Regions from separate parts of the Homo sapiens genome. Here regions 2 and 3 are each linked to region 1. Evidence: promoter capture Hi-C in 16 types of primary human blood cells and fetal thymus (Javierre and others, 2016). All regions are on one chromosome and are shown on one strand. Each heading gives the region's core, a stretch centred on a gene start or on the middle of the fragment in contact. The rest is flanking DNA. Distances are from core to core; before and after follow the strand shown.

The links. Contacts are between HindIII fragments. The CHiCAGO score rates a contact against its expected background, and 5 or more counts as called.
Region 2: a contact is called between a fragment that was not itself captured here and the fragment with the promoter of PDZK1 in region 1, in 2 of 17 cell types (M2 macrophages and erythroblasts). The highest score is 7.1, in M2 macrophages.
Region 3: a fragment that was not itself captured here is called in contact with the fragment with the promoter of PDZK1 in region 1 in 1 of 17 cell types (erythroblasts); the score reaches 5.9 in erythroblasts.

The regions. Positions count from the first base shown.
Region 1 is chr1:145,705,783-145,709,253 of GRCh38, forward strand. It overlaps PDZK1 (PDZ domain containing 1), which reads right to left and starts at 1,586. Exons shown (of 9, transcript NM_001201325.2): 1 at 1,535-1,586. RefSeq lists an enhancer at 634-1,833. The HindIII fragment of the contact is 4,747 bases long and covers 1-3,471 here.
Region 2 is chr1:145,803,325-145,806,795 of GRCh38, forward strand. All of the region lies in intron 1 of RNF115 (ring finger protein 115), which reads right to left. Among named protein-coding and RNA genes, the nearest start is that of RNF115, 19 kb to the right of the region's middle. RefSeq lists an enhancer at 1,660-2,168. The HindIII fragment of the contact is 2,887 bases long and covers 517-3,403 here.
Region 3 is chr1:145,787,099-145,790,569 of GRCh38, forward strand. It overlaps RNF115 (ring finger protein 115), which reads right to left. Exons shown (of 9, transcript NM_014455.4): 2 at 1,810-1,868. Among named protein-coding and RNA genes, the nearest start is that of RNF115, 35 kb to the right of the region's middle. The HindIII fragment of the contact is 5,543 bases long and covers 1-3,471 here.

The DNA of each region.
Region 1 (3,471 bases), core at 336-2,835:
GTCTGTCACCCAGGCTGGAGTGCAGTGATGCAATCACGGCTCACTGTAGCCTCGACCCCCTGGGCTCAAGCAACCCTTCCATTTCAGCCTCCCAAGTAGCTGACACCACAGACACATGCCACCATGCAGGATTAATTTATTATTATTTTTTGTAGAGACGGGGGTCTCACTTCATTGCCCAGGCTGGTCTCGAACTCCTGGCCTCAAGTGATCCTCCCGCTTGGGCATCCCAAAGTGCTGGGATTACAGGCATGAGCCACCATGCAGGACCACACATTTGTACTTATAATTTTATTTTCAGTACACTCTTGGGGAAAAGATGACAGACCTTCACTTGATCAATAATGAAATTGAGGCTCCAGTTGGCTAAGTAGTTTGTCTAATGGCCTGTCACTAGCAACTGAATCAAAACTCTGATGATTTGTATTCCAGTCCTATGTTCTTTCCCCTGGGGGAGAAGTAGCTGCCTAGCCAGTGGTCTATGAATATAAGACATCATTACCAGCAACTTCACACCCTATGGTGCAGAGAACATACAAAAGTCAAAGATAAGCACAAGTTACTATCATAACACAGAAATTCAAAGACCCTGAGTAATTTGCTGCAGACTTCAGATGACTGGACAATCATGGCCTGAGGCAGTCCCTGCTACCCCCTCTTGCCTTCTAGATACAAGACTGAAAGCTGCCCTGGTGACACATTGCAGAGATTTTAGTAAATAAAGAAGAATGTGTTTCTCAGAGCCAACGCCCAAATCTTCATAGCTGGACCCAACCCAGACCAGGAGTCTTCATAGCGAGTGAACCCTTAGGTAAGTGTCATACTTAAGTCTCATGAGTCTTCTGCTTAAGAAATAAACTACTAGTGGTTCCCAAACCTACCTGCACTGATCAGAATGATTCTGGGAGAGTTTTCAAATAAAGATCTTTCAATTCACACAAGGCCTGGAGACTTAGAAATGCCAAAGGTGAGAGCCTGGGGAATGTATGTTTTAAAATTCAGCCAGCCTGGAAATCCACTGGTTTTTCTCATGTCTTAGTGCTGCAGTGTGATACAGAGAGGAAAGATGCCTGCTTTTATTATCTAGTGGGCAAGCTAAGTTAGGCTGCATCCTTTAAAGGCTGCTTCCAGAAGAGTCTTCTCTGCTACCCAAGGCCCCTGTATCAGTAGGAAGGTCCCGGGCATATCCGCCTGGTTACCTGTGAAGTCAGTTGTCTCACTCCCTTTGGCTGCACATCAAACCCCCACACAACCCCGGGAAGGCTTTTTCTGAGGTCGGTTTACCAATTTCTTTGTGAAGCAGACCCTAGCCTACAAAGGTGAGGGGCATCTCCAGCAGAAAGAATCTCAGAGCGTGGATCATCTCTCACCCCCAACCACCGCCAAAGGGGCCTGGCTGCCTCCCCATGGGACTCTTCTCTGCCCTAGACAGCCAGCTACTGGCTTGGAAAAAGAAAAAGGGAAAAGGAAAAGAAAGAAGGTAGTTCAGGCCCCGGTGGCCAGCACCCTCAAGGAGGACACGAGCAGTTCTTACCTGGAGATGGAAGAGGAGCTGCTCTGTTCGTTCACTCAGGAATTCTGTCTCTGCAGGTGAGCATTAAGCTTGCAACTCACTGGACTTTGAACAAAGATTGATTTAAAAGCTAATGTATTTAACAGGGACATGTGGTCTGAATTCAAGTGACCTCTGTCCTGCTTCCTGCCAGCTGGCTGGGCCCTGAGCTGGAAAATCTGACAAACCTCAGCAAACCAAAAGCTCTGGCCCACCTGCCTGGCCCTGCGGGGAGGCCGCTGCTCGCCAGCCACTCCCAGAGAACAAGGAGGGGAGAGGGGGTGAAGGACAGCCAGGGAGGAGGTGCCTCCGCTTTCCTTGGTACTCTCCCTTTGGCAGATACCTTGGTTACACCCAACCAACCCCCAATCCTGTTAGGATCCTCCAGTCCCCCATCCTGGGGTCAGGGCCGAGGCTCATACAGGAGTATCCTCAATCACTGAGGCCTCCCCAAGGAGCAGTAGCCTATAAAACTCCCACCCACGAGGCCAGTAAGCCCCAGGAAATGGGGCCAAGCACTCAGGGCACCCATCCTGCTTCCCTCTGCCCTGGATTCTCACTTGTGTGCTCCCTAGGAGTTTAGCAAGCAAAGCCCTAGAGCAAGCAAAGCCCTTGTTCTTGTGTCCCAGGCTTCCTTCTTCTTATCCACTCTCTCCCCTCTCTTTTTTTCTTCTCTTTCTCACCTGATGGTGCTCTTTCTATTCTCCAGCCTAGCGATAATTGTCTTCCCCTTCACACACTCAGAGCCTCTCGGGCAAGCCCAGCAGGGTAGGTGGAAGGCATTTTTACAAACCCCTCCATCCTGCTGCCTTGCTGCCCGAGCAGTAGGCTGGTGCCCGTGTGCTCAGCCGCTAGCCCTAGCCATGATCAGCAGCTGATCCCTATCAGCAGCACCCACACAGACAATTCTATCACTGGCCTTCTCACTGACCTGAATCCTCAGCCCACAATGCAAATCAGGGCAAGAGATTGCTCCCGGCACTGAGGCAAAGCAAACCACAGGCCGAGGACTGGGTGACCTCACCCCTCTTCCACCCACACTGGAAGAGCCATTTGTCTTTGCTGGGCCTTGGCTTGGCCCCCAACAAAGACATGACCTGAGCCCATGGATAAACGGTTTAAAATGACATTGAGCAGCTTCCTCATACCAGCTTATCTTCCTCCACCTCGGGGCTAAGCCCTCCTGGCCTCCTCTATATCTTTCAAAGCAGAAGGTAGAATGGGAAAATCTGGATTTAGGATCAGAACACCTGAGTTCATCGCAATCCCAGCAATTTGTGAGGCCAAAGCGGGCAGATTGCCTGAGCTCAAGAGTTCGAAACCAGCCTGGGCCACATGGCAAAACCTTGTCTCTACAAAAGGTACAAAAAGCCAGGCATGGTGGTGCATGCCTGTAGTCCCAGCTACTCTGGAGGCTGAGGTGGGAGGATCACTTGATTGAGAGGCAGAGGTTGCAGTGAGCCGTGATCATGCCACTGCACTCCAGCCTCAATGACAGAGCGAGACCCTGTCTCCAAAAAAAAAACAACAAAACAAAAAAGAAAGAAAGAACACCTGAGTTCAATTCTGACGCCACCATTTCCCATTTCCCAGGTGTTTGATCCAGAGTAATTCATTTTTAACTCTCTGGGTCTCACCTTCATCATGTATAAATAGTTGTTATTGTATGGTTTTTAGAAATTTTTAAAAATTGCTGTTGTTGTTGTTGTTGTTTGAGATGGAGTCTCACTCTGTTACAGCCCAGGCTGAAATGCAGTGGTGCAATCTCAGCTCACTGCAACATCCGCTTCCTGAGTTCAAGTGATTCTCCTGCCTCAGCCTCCCGAGTGGCTGGGATTACAAGTGCCCGCCACCATGCCTGGCTAATTTTTTGTATTTTCAGTAGAGACAGGGTTTCACCATGTTGGCCAGGCTGGTCT
Region 2 (3,471 bases), core at 710-3,209, 98 kb after region 1:
AATAAAACTACCTTGATTTATGGTTTCATCCCCCTAAGAATAGTAACATTCACATTCACAACCTTTATTTATTTATTTATTTTGAGACTGAGTCTCACTCTGTTGCCCAGGCTGGAATGCAGTGGCGTGATCTTGGCTCACTGCAAACTCTGCCTCCCAGGCTGAAGCAATTCTCCCACCTCAGCTTCCCAGTAGGTGGGAATACAGGTGCCCGCCATTATGCCCAGCTAATTTTTGTATTTTTAGTAGAGATGGGTTTCACCACATTGGCCAGGCTGGTGTTGAACTCCTGACCTCAAGTGATCCACCTGCCTCAGCCTCCCAAAGTGCTGGGATTAGAGGCGTGAGCCACCGCACCCAGCCACCTTTATCATTTTGTTCCTTAATTCAGGCCATGATTGAACACTGACATTACAGATTCCAAACAGGAGTGCATAATCAACCAAGCTTCTTTAGCTCATTGTGTACCAAGGCAGAAAATCAGGTCACAAGACAAAGTGTTACTTGATACAAGCTTGATCAGATGGTCAAGAAGCCAAATTTTCTAAGGAAGAAACACACAGGACTACAAGAATTACCAGAGAAAATGTTAATTAACCTCAGACAACATAATATAGCAGAAAAGATTTATAGTGTTTTTGGCTTGCTCACACTAAAGGCAGCAAGAAAGGGAACAACCCAGTGGCATAAATATAAAATGATAAATGAGCCAAAAAGTATAGATGTTTAGCTCTGATGTGTACCACAATAGTTTAGAAGTAAAATGTACTTTCTTGCTTTTAGCTTAGGCTGACAGAATCTTCTTTGACAAAGTGACAACATTCATTCACTCAGCAAAAATTCTAAGCTCTACATTCCAAGCATTGTGTAGAAAGAAAAATAACCTGGGATTAAAAGTCACTAAAATCACCTACAAAGTATATGCTCTGATAAAATCATACTTCCCTTAACCATATTCTAGTAGTTAGGGAAGTCAAAAGGCATATAAAATGAACTTCTGAATATCCTAGTCTTAGGTACTTAGCCTCGAAATGAGAACTAAGCAATGCTTCAGAACAGCCTAAGTGGTTAGAGTAATGAATGTGAAGCAAAACAAAGCTGGACTGGTAATCATTTCAACTATGTATGTGCACTTCAAAACATCATGTTGTCCACCTTAAATGCATGCATGCATGCACACACACACACACACACACACACACACACACAATCAGACTGGAAACACAGAATAACCAACCAGTTGTGTGACACTGGGTAGCTCACTTCATCTAAATGAGATAGTACCGGGAATATACTAAATTCTCAACAAACTGTAGGTTCTAATAAATTATTCTGAGTGATTTGGATATGGAATATTTCTCAAACCACGTTTCACAGGATATTAACCAGTGGTTAAGGTGGGGAGAAAAACTAGATTTAGAAAAGCCTGAACTAAATATCAAACATGCTGCTTTAATGAATGATTTTTCAGAACCATTAATATGCCATTCCATGTCATAAAAGGGGAAGTGGAGGGATGGAGATAGGGCAACAATTTGGTATGCAATATTTTACCATAATTCTGAACTCCTATTAAATCTCCTGGCACACAGTTTGAGAAACACTGATCTAGACTACTGATTTCCATACTTTTGGTTCCCATAAAGCAGTTCAATTTTCAAATTAAAAAATTGGAAACCTGCAAGGATTGCCAGCTTTTTTATTTTGCCAAGTATAAATATTAAAAAAAAAACCATCTACCATCACCATTTCATTTTAAAAAGTACTATTTTACCATGTACCCACAGAGCAATCAGAGCTTCTGACTGAGAACTCTTCATCGAAATAAAAGTAATACTTGGAATTCTAGCATTGACTTGCCATCAATGACATAGGAGAATTTCACAAGTATGATCTAATTCAACTCACAGCAGGAACATTCAAGTCAGGAAAGATCACATACAAACTGGTTGTTAACAGTAGCCACTGACCATTGGATTAAGAAAACAATTAATTAACTGAATACAACTTTAAAAACAAAAGCAATGTAAATGCAACCTCAAAGCAAACAAAGAATATTTATAAAATAGTTCTAAAAAAAAAATTATCCAGGCCAAGTTTACCTGTTACTGAATCCCAAGTCTTCAAAAAAAAAAAAAATGAAGTTTTAATTTATTCAGTCAACATTACCAGCATTATTGCTTTGTTTGATTTATAAAAGGAAAATTTTGACATTGCTTTGCATTATGTCCTCCATCCTAACATTTTCAAGACTGTTCATCATTATAAGATAAAATATGCACTAATAGTTTGTAACTCATAAAGGAGATTATTTCAGGGGTAAAATTTAAATCCTAGTATGTCAGTGGCTACCACATGATCTATGTGGAAAAACTACAGAAGAAAATTCCCTTACACAAAATCCAAAAATACCCCAGAGCTCAAATCACTAAACCGTAGCTAGCAGGAATAAACACAACTATCTCATTTTACAGACAAGGAAAATGAAGACCCTGAAAGGTTCAATAATTTAACAGCTAAAATAAAACATTTTTTCCCACAGTACTAGAATACAATTTATATATAATTAATTAAAATAAATAAAATCAGCTATAAAAAGGGCTGACAACAGTTGCAAAATGAGGGCTAGTTGTTAGTTCTTACAACAACAATATCTCAGACCTGAAATGGGCAAAAAGGCATTTGCTCTAATCCAGAGATAGCTACATTAATTTAATGTTTAAATGAGATATTAAATTTAAGTCCAGGCACAGTGGCTCACGACTATAATCCCAGCACTTTGGGAAGCTGAGGCGGGTGGATCACTTGAGGTCAGGTGTTCAAGACCAGCCTGGCCAACAGGGTGAAACCCCGTCTCTACTAAAAATACAAAAATTAGCTGGGCATTGTGGCCCACACCTGTAATCCCAGCTGCTCAGGAAGCTGAAGCAGGAGAATCGCTTGAACCCGGGAGGCAGAGGTTTCAGTGAGCTGAGATCGTGCCACTGCACTCCAGCCTGGGCAACAGAGGAAGACTCCATCTCAAAAAAATAAAATAGATAAATAAATAAATAAATATTAAATTTAAAGAAAGCCAAAAGGAGAAGAAAATATTTAAATCCTGATTTTACTACCCATTTTTCTCAACATTTTATTAATCTCCGTACTTCTTCCTGAATATAGCTGATATAGTTTGGATATGTGTCCCCTCTAAATCTCATGTTGAAATTTGATCCCCAATGTTGGAGGTAGGGCCTAGTGGGAGGTATTTAGGTCATGGACGCAGATCCCTCATGAATGTCTTGGTGCAGTCCTTACAGGAATGAGTGATGTGGTTGTTTAAAAGAGTGTGGTACCCCTCCCCTTTCTCTCTTGCCTTGCGGAACACCTGCTTCCCCTTGGCCTTCCACTATGACTGGAAGCTTCCTGAGGTCCCACCAGAAGCAGATGCTGGTGCGAAGCTTCTTGTACTGTCTGCAGAGTAATGAGCTA
Region 3 (3,471 bases), core at 636-3,135, 82 kb after region 1:
CATTAAAATCTCCAAAGTCACTCCAAGATTAAGAGGCTTCAGATTACAGATTCTTTTTGACCAGTCGGTACTTCTTCAATTTTCAGACGAATGTTTAACCAAATAGCCCCAAAAGAACAAATGTGCCATTTTGTTTAGCCAAAAGAGGCCATCCTATCAATGCTATTCTAAAATTTATTAAAATTTTAAGTTAGGCCAGGTGCAGTGGCTCACACTTGTAATCCCAACACTTTGGGAGGCCAAGATGGGCGGATCACGAGGTCAGGACTTCAAGACCAGCCTGGCAAACACGGTGAAACCCCATCTCTACTAAGAATACAAAAATTAGCCAAGCGTGGTGGTGCATGCCTGTAATCTCAGCTACTTGGGAGGCTGAGGCAGGAGAATCACTTGAACCTGGGAGGCAGAGATTGCAGTGAGCCAAGATCGTGCCCTTGCACTCCAGCCTGGGCAAAAGAGTGAGACTCCGTCACAAAAAAAAAAAAAAAAAAAAGAAAAAGATTTTAGGTTGGGCACGGTGGCTCATGCCTGTAATCCCAGCACTTTGGGAGGCCAAGGCAGGCGGATCACTTGAGGTCAGGAGTTCAAGACCAGCCTGGCCAACACGGCAAAACCCCATCTCTACTAAAAATACACAAAAATTAGCAGGGCATAGTGTCAGACACCTGTAGTCCCAGCTACTGGGCAAGCTGAGGCCCAAGAATCATTTGAACCTGGGAGGCAGAGGTTGCAGTGAGCCGAGATCGAACCACTGCACTCCAATCTGGCAACAGAGCAAGACTCTGTCTCAAAAAAAAAAGAAAAAAGAAAAAAGATTTTATAGTTTTGTTCACATAAACAAAAAAGGAATATGTAATAGTCACTTTCAGAAATATTTCCCCTTTTTATCAGCTGTATACCTTTATGAAGGCCAATAAGAACAAATTCCAAGCATTACAAACCCATATATTAATATCACCCTGGAAAGATGGCCTAAGTTTGACAGCAATAATCTTTTCTTTTTTCTTTTTTTTGAGACACAGTTTCACTCTTGTTGCCCAGGCTGGAGTCTTGGCTCACTGCAACCTCCACCTCCCGGTTTCAAGTGATTCTCCTGCCTCAGCCTCCCAAGTAACTGGAATTACAGGCGCCCGCCACTATACCCAGCTAATTTTTGTGTTTTTAATGGAGACGGGGTTTCACCATGTTGACCACGCTGGTCTTGAGCTCCTGACCTCAGGTGATCCACCCACCTCAGCCTCCCAAAGTGTTGGGATTACAGGCGTGAGCCACCACACTGGCCAAATAACCTTAATAAGAACAAGAGATTCAAGGCCTCCTCAAAGCAGAGTAACAATTGGTTTTCCTGGCTAGAACAGCCTGTTTACCTGATTAGGTATCTTTGTCAGAAGTCACTCCCTAACCCGCCAAAGAGGTATAACAGCAGTTTACCTTCAGACAGCAGAGTGGTCACTAAAAACCAACTAATAATCTAAGAGAAGCCCCAAGTCTCAGATAATAAATGAAAACTTACCAGATTTACTCTGACATGCGTACAGATGTACATGGAATGCCACATACAATCAGGAGCAGTGCGTATCACCACATCTGCTATGATATCACTTTCCAAATTTTCCCATTTTTCTTTCTTTTTCCTCTCCCATTCTTCTGCCCTCTCTTGTGCAAGCTCATGCACTCACTCTCTCTCTCTCACTCTCGCTCTCTCTGTAGAGTGTAAGTTGTAAAACAAATTCAACTTACTCAGTCCATGCTGAGAGAAAATAGTTTTGATAATAGAATGTCTGATTTATTCATGAGCTTGTACAATACCTGGAATCATCTGTCACTTCTTCAATAAAGCCTGATTCACATCTGGGACATATATATTCCTATAAAAGAAAGGAAGAAACAAATAAAACTTTTTCATTAGAAAGCTACGTGGTATCTGTAGTTTCAGAATAACATGCAGTATACAAGCTGAGGCTCTGAAATGTTCTATGTACTCGCTGACTCAAGTAGTTTTTGTTTTTTTTTTTCTTTTGTGAGACAGGGTCTCACTCTGTCACCCAGGCTGGACTGCAGTGGTATGATCATGGCTCACTGCAGCCTCCATCTCCCAGGCGCAAGAGATCCTCCTGCCTTAGCCTTCAGAGTAGCTAGGACCACAGGCACATGCCAACATACCTAATTTTTTTTATTTTTTGTAGAGGATGAGGTCTTGCTATGTTGCCCAAGCTGATCTCAAACTCCTGAACTGAAGTGATCTTCCTGCCTCAGCCTCCCAAAGTGCTGGAATTACAGGCATAAGCCACTGAGCCCAGCCTAGTTTTTTTTCTTTTTTTTTTGTTTTTCTTTTTGTTGCCCAGGCTGGAGTGCAATGGCATGATCTCGGCTCACGGCAACCTCCACCTCCTGGGTTCAAATGATTCTCCTGCCTCAGCCTCCCAAGTAGCTAGGATTACAGGCATGCGACAACACGCCTGGCTAATTTTGTATTTTTAGGAGAGACGAGGTTTTTCCATGTTGGTCAGGCTAGTCTCGAACTCCCGACCTCAGCTGAACTACCTGCCTCAGCCTCCCAAAGTGCTGGGATTACAGGTGTGAGCCACCACACCCGGACTTCTTTTTTTTTTTTTTTTTTTTTTTTTGAGATGGAGTCTCGCTCTCTTGCCCAGGAGCTAGAGTGCAATGGTGTGATCTCAGCTCACTGCAACCTCCACCTCCTGGGTTTAAGTGATTCTCCTGCCTCAGCCTCCCAGGTAGGTGGGATTACAAGCCCCTGGCTAATTTTTGTATTTTTAGTAGAGACAGGGTTTCACCATGTTGGTCAGGCTGGTCTCAAACTCCTGACCTCAGGCGATCCACCCGCCTCGGCCTCCGAAAGTGCTGGGATTACAGGCACGAGCCACCACGCCCAGTCCCGGCCTAGTTTTTTCTATTATACTCTGGCAAATATAGAATTCCATAAAATATTTGCAGAATTGCTTCATAGCTACCTAAGTGGTTTCCACTGACAGCTGAAAGGTAGAGTGTCAAAGATTTTTTTATTTTAAAATTTAGGTTATTTATTTGTTTATTTAGAGACGGAGTTTCACTCTTGTTGCCCAGGCTGGAGTGCAATGGTGCGATCTTGGCTCACCACAACCTCTGCCTCCCAGGTTCAAGAGATTCTCCTGCCTCAGTCTCCCGAGTAGCTGGGATTACAGGCATGCAACACCACGCCTGGCTAATTTTGTATTTTTATTAGAGACGGGGTTTCTCCATGTTGGTCAGGCTGGTCTTGAACTCCCGACCTCAGGTGATCCCCCTGCCTCAGCCTCCCAAAGTACTGGGATTATAGGCATGAGCCACTGCGCCCGGCCTTTTTTTTTTAAGACAGAGTTTCGCTCTTGCTGCCCAAGCTGGAGTGCAATGGCACGGTCTTGGCTCACTGCAATCTCTGCTTCCCAGGCTCAAGCCATTCTCCTGCCTCAGCCTCCCAAGTAGCTGGGA